Regions from separate parts of the Homo sapiens genome. Here region 1 is linked to region 2. Evidence: promoter capture Hi-C in human tissues and cell types (Jung and others, 2019). All regions are on one chromosome and are shown on one strand. The core of a region is centred on a gene start or on the middle of the fragment in contact, and the rest is flanking DNA. Distances in the headings are between cores, read along the strand shown. Region 1 has its middle 19 kb from the start of ZNF268. Region 2 holds the start of ZNF26 (zinc finger protein 26).

Evidence for each region. Contacts are between HindIII fragments. The study calls those that stand out against the background at their distance.
Region 1: a contact is called between a fragment that was not itself captured here and the fragment with the promoter of ZNF26 in region 2, in 2 of the 25 tissues and cell types used here (dorsolateral prefrontal cortex and lymphoblastoid cells).

Annotation. Positions count from the first base shown.
Region 1 is chr12:133,160,650-133,163,349 of GRCh38, forward strand. No RefSeq gene overlaps it. Among named protein-coding and RNA genes, the nearest start is that of ZNF268, 19 kb to the right of the region's middle. The HindIII fragment of the contact is 4,932 bases long and covers 1-2,700 here.
Region 2 is chr12:132,985,019-132,987,944 of GRCh38, forward strand. It overlaps ZNF26 (zinc finger protein 26), which reads left to right and starts at 1,349. Exons shown (of 4, transcript NM_019591.4): 1 at 1,349-1,855. The coding sequence starts at 1,823. RefSeq lists enhancers at 970-1,439, 1,695-2,194, 1,920-1,969. The HindIII fragment of the contact is 17,637 bases long and covers 1-2,926 here.

The DNA of each region.
Region 1 (2,700 bases), core at 124-2,623, 180 kb after region 2:
GCCCCTGAAGAATCGCCTTGACCAGGGTCTGTGAAATGGTTGGGGGTTTATAAAATGTTGCAGCTTGGACTAACAGTGACCAATTAGGAAATGAAATTAGAAATATAATCCCATTTACAATGATAGAAAAAATGTGAAATACTTAGATAAATTTAATGAAACATGAAAGACCTGCACAGTGAAAACTATAAAACATTGCTGGAAGAAGTTAAGGAACATATAATAAGAATAAATAACACAAAAGAAACGGAGAAATATACCTTGGTCAAGGATGGGAAAACTCAGTATTGTTAAGATGGCAGTCCTCCCGAAATTAATCTTTATTTTATTTATTTATTTATTTTTTGAGACGGAGTCTCGCTCTGTAACTCAGGCTGGAGTGCAGTGGTGCGATCTGGCTCACTGCAAGCTCTGCCTTCCGGGTTCATGCCATTCTCCTGCCTCAGCCTCCCGAGTAGCTGGGACCACAGGCGCCCACCACCACGCCTGGCTAATTTTTTTGTATTTTTAGTAGAGACGGGGTTTCACCCTGTTAGCCAAGGATGGTCTTGATCTCCTGACCTCATGATCTGCCCACCTCGGCCTCCCAAAGTGCTGGGATTACAGGCGTGAGCCACTGCACCCGGCCAATTTTTTAAAATTCTAATGAATTTTGTCATATACTGATCTGAAGGGTTTTTCAGTTAAAAAGTGCTGGAGAATGCTGTGATAATATGTTTGGGAAATAGAAGCTTTTCACATGAGTGTTCCTGAATCAGTCCTCACTGCCTAGACATTGAACTTATTAGACAAAATGGTGATATCGATAAACAGATAGAAATTATTAAAAAGAACTGAAGAGAAATTCTGGAGATGAAAAGTATAACTGAAATGAAAAATTCAGTATAGAGGTTTAACAGCATATTTGAGCAGACAGAAGGTAAATCAGCAAACTTGGAGATAAAACAATTGGAATTATATGTGTGAGGAACAGAAAGTAAATTTTAAAAAGTGAACAGATTACAGGCATTCCTTGGAGATACTGCAGGCTTCATTCTACACCACCACAACAAAGCAATCAATCATCATAAGGAAGTCACACAATATTTTTGGTTTCCTAGTGAATATAAAACCTATGTTTAGAGGGCGGGCTTCAAGATGACTGACTAAAGGCATTTGGTACTCACCTCATTCACAAAGAGGAACCAAAAATGGCAAGTATATAATCACACTTTGAGTAGATCATCTAAGAGAGGACATATAATTCAACAGAGAAGTGATAGAAAACACCTAAGGCAAGGAAGCAGAGGGAGGTGAGGTAGCCTGCTCAGCCACTGGAGATTGACTGAGAACCCAGAGAAACACCCCAATGTGAGGAAAGGGTATGTGAGAGATTCCCTAGCAGTCCACATTTCCACCATGGTTTCTTGCAATCCTAGCATGGGAAATTTCCTCAACCCTCACAGGCCCTAAGACCAACATAGTAGCTGCCTGGAGACCACATGATGGCATTGCTACAGAGATGGGGCATACACTGGGTCTTACACACACCCTGAGTCCTAAGTAGCTGCAGCACAGTGCCATTTTGAGAGCCCAGACCCTACCACACTTCACCCTGCATTGGTGCTCAATAGCTCCTGCATATCTGCATCCCAGGAGCCCCGTTGACAAGCATGCTTGGCCCACCACTCCCACTCCCTTGGGCCCTGGGGCACAAGGGCTGGCCCACCTGGAATCCCTATCTCCAGCAAAACTACTACAGTCTACACCAACGATGGTGCTCTAAGCCACTGAGGAAATCACAGGTACCACTGAAACTGCTTACAGCTGAAGAAATTATATGGAGACTACACTGCTGCATGGACCCAAAATAAAAACTAAAGTGCCCTACCCCGGGCCAGGCGCAGTGGCTCATGCCTGTAATCCCAGCACTCTGGGAGGTGGGCGGATCACCTGAGGTCAGGAGTTCAAGACCAGCCTGGCCAACATGGTGAAACTCCATCTCTACTAATAATACAAAAATTAGCCAAGTGTGGTGGTGGGCACCTGTAATCCCAGCTACTCAGGGGGCTGAGGCAGGGAAATCGCTTGAACCCGGGTGGCAGAGGTTGCAGTGAGCCCAGATCCCACCAGTGCACTCTACCCTGGGTAACAGAGTGAGATTCTGTCTCAAAAAAAAAATTTAAAAATTAAATTAAATTAAAAAGTGCCCTACCTGGCCAGGTGCAGTGGCTCATGCCTGTAATCCTAGCACTTCGGGAGGCCAAGGCAGGGAGATTACTGGAGCTCTGGTGTTTGAGACCAGCCTGGGAAACATGGTGAAACCCAGTCTCTACAAAAAATACAAAACTTAGCCAGGTGGTGTATGCCTGTGGTCCCAGCTACTTGGGAGGCTGAGGTAGGAGGATTGCTTAAGCCCGGGAAGTAAAGCTTGCAGTCAGCCATAGACACATAGTTGCAGTCACCATAGATACATCTTTAGGAAAAAGTCCTCCTCTACTAAAGCAAATTCAAAAAAATGGAAGAAGTGACTTTTTCACCAGATGTGTATATATCAATGTTGAGAACACAAGAAATATGAAAAAAAAAACTAAGGAAAAAATGACACCTCCAAAGGAACACAGTAACTCTCCAGCAAACAAGGATGCTATATCCAGAAAAGTTAAATGAAGTCATAAATGAAGAAGAAAGAAAGTCTTTCCCAGGCAAATAAAAACTTAG
Region 2 (2,926 bases), core at 99-2,598:
CCTCACCAGCATTTATTATTGCTTGTCTTTTGGATAAAAGCCATTTTAACTGGGGTGAGATAATATCTCGTTGTAGTTTTGATTTGCATTTCTCTGATGATCAATTATATTGTGTACCTTTTCATATACCTGTTTGCCATTTGTATGTCTTCTTTTGAGAAATGTCTATTCAGATGTTTGGCACTTTTTTTTTTTTTTTTTTTTTGAGACAGGGTTTCACTCCTGTCATCGAGGCTGGAGTGCAATGGTGCAATCTCGGCTCACTGCAACCTCCACCTCACGGGCTCAAGCAATTCTGCTGCCTTAGCCCCCCAAGTAGCTGAGACTACAGATGCATGCCACCACATCCGGCTTACTTTTGATATGTTTTGTAGAGACGAGGTTTCACCATGTTGCCCAGGCTAGTCTCCAACTCCTGGGCTCATGCGATCCACCCACCTCAGCCCTCCAAAATGCTGGGATTACAGACGTGAGCCATCGTGCCTGGCCATTTTGCACATTTTTAAATCTCAAAAGGCCAATCTACAATAGTGGTGTTATCTGTAGGAGTAACTGGGGAAGTTGCGTGTCTTGTGACCAATCCACATCTTAGCAGAATTCAGGCTCCTCTCCTCCCGCTAGCTTGGTGGTCTCTCATAGGTTTTACAAAGGCAGTTGGGTTTTGGAAAAGGGCTATCATTTGAACTATAACCTAAATGTCTTCCAAAGTTAGCTTGGCCTAAGCCCAGGAATAATGAAGGCATCTTGACAGCCAAAGGCGCGCAGAGTTGGGGGTTTGGTTAGATTAGACCTCCCCCACTGCTATAATTTTCTCACTGATATAATTTTTGCAAAGGCAGTTTCATTACTGGTGTGGTTCTATTTATTTGTTTTTCACATCTACTATAGTTTCTCCTTTATGAAGTTGGTTACTGTATTATTTGGTGCACTGATATTCAAAACTGTTATTTAACCCTATGAACTGCAGCTTTTAGCTTTACAAAGCGTCCTTTTTTGCTGTGCCTTCTGGTCTGAACCCTATCTTGTTTGATATCAAAACCTCAGCACGCCTGCGTCTCTGCTGGGGTCGGACTCTGAGTCAGTTCTACAGGCCCTGGGAAACTGGGCGTCCAGGCTCCGAGGATGGTACTGAACCTGGCGCAGCCGTGGGAGGGTGAACCAGGTGCCGCTGGCGGAGCCCCCTCCCAGCCTTCCTTTCCCGTCAGGCTGTGCCCCTCTCTAGATCCGCGGCAGCTGGAAGCCAGGCCTGTAACGAGGGAGCCTTCTCCGAGGATTGTGGGAGATGTAGTTTTTCCGGCGCCTTCGCGTCCTGGCGCATCGACGCAGGACGCACTTCCGCATGCGCCGCACTCCCGGCCTTAGTCGGGTGCGCGCGTGCAGGGCTGTTTCCGGCTTAGACTCAGTGGACCGGAATCTGGCCAGCGGGTGTACCTGGCTGAGTCTCTGTGGCCGCGGAGGCGCGGAGCTAAGCGGCTCGGATTATCCTGGGCAGACCAGAGACTTGACCAGCTAAACACTTCCGTCGGTCCGGGGCGTGGACGGGGCCAGATCAGCCTCCTGCTCTCCCGAGTCAGGGCCACGGAAAGGCACAAATCCATCCGTGCGACTCCTGGTACCCAGACCGGGAGGTTGTCTAGTCACGCGCGGTCTGTGTTGGGCGAGAGCTGAGGAGCCGGCGTCCCTGCCAACGACTCGGCCCCGGGACGGTCAGGAGCCTGGGGCCCTGGTCCCGCACCTGTCTTCGGGCGGACGCATCCCTCACGGTCTCTCCGCAGCCCGCGGGTCCTGCCCCCGCAGGCAGCGCGCGAACGTGGGCGTGGGGATGGCCACCAGTTTCCGGACAGCTTCGTGCTGGGTAAGTAGAGACTTTCCGTGTTTAAAATTCGACTGGATACTGAGGGTGGCCACGTTAATCTCTTCAGGGTTACTCCGGGAACTGAACTCACATTCAGCTGTAATTGTGTGCGTAGTTTACTAGACTACCCTCCCCACCAAACCAAAGCGCCTCTGAAGCTCGCCCAAGCTCTGGCCCTGCAGAAACGTGCCTGTGGTATTCTGTGACGGGCAGTTATACTGCACTTCATGGCCAGCTGCGGGCCCTGAAGTCTGAGGATCCTCCATCATTTCATGTTTTCTACACAAAGTTGTCTTATGGAGACCCTTAGAACTTAGCTGGAGAAATGATCAGTTCCTCCTTTTTCGTTTGGCCAAATGCTTGTTTATGGAGTGTCCTTTTGTCTGCTGGACTCTAAGGCTGGTGCTGGCAATGCAGAGATAAATTATGTATGTTCCTAATTTTAGAGGAGCTTTGGTTTGGTGGAGAGGGTAGTCTAGTGAACTATGGACGCAATTACAGGTGAATGAATAGGGAGAAAAGGCTAGGAGCGGAGCTCGAGAGTCCGAAAGGTAAGGGGCGGGCCAGTGGATCATCGGGACTTTATGAATTATTGATGGAGTGAACCAGAGGGGAGTCTTTACAAGTGATTTGATTGCCAAATCCTTTGCCCTCGGTGAGTGGTGTTGACGACGTTGCCGGATGTGGTGCTCTACCATTGAGCTATACAGCCGGAGACTAGGAATGCTATTGGAAGAGGGACCCTGGGAATGACTTTCGCAGGTGTTGAATATCCAATGCCTGTATTTCAGCCTGTAACTCACATGGGAGGTCTAAACTGGAAATACATAAAGACACCTTATTGTATTCGTGGAAGCTCAGAGTGTGACCAACTGGAACCCTCAAGAGGACCGAGGTGAGGACTCAGGTTAATGAAAGGAAAGGACACACGGTGGAGAAAGGCTGTTGTGCTAAAGAAACGAGAGAAAGTTAGGAGTGGATTTCTCCCCCTGTGAGTTTGTTCCTTTGTCAGAGATCAGTTGACTATATTTATATGGGTCTATTTCTGGGCTCTTTATTGAGTTCTATTGA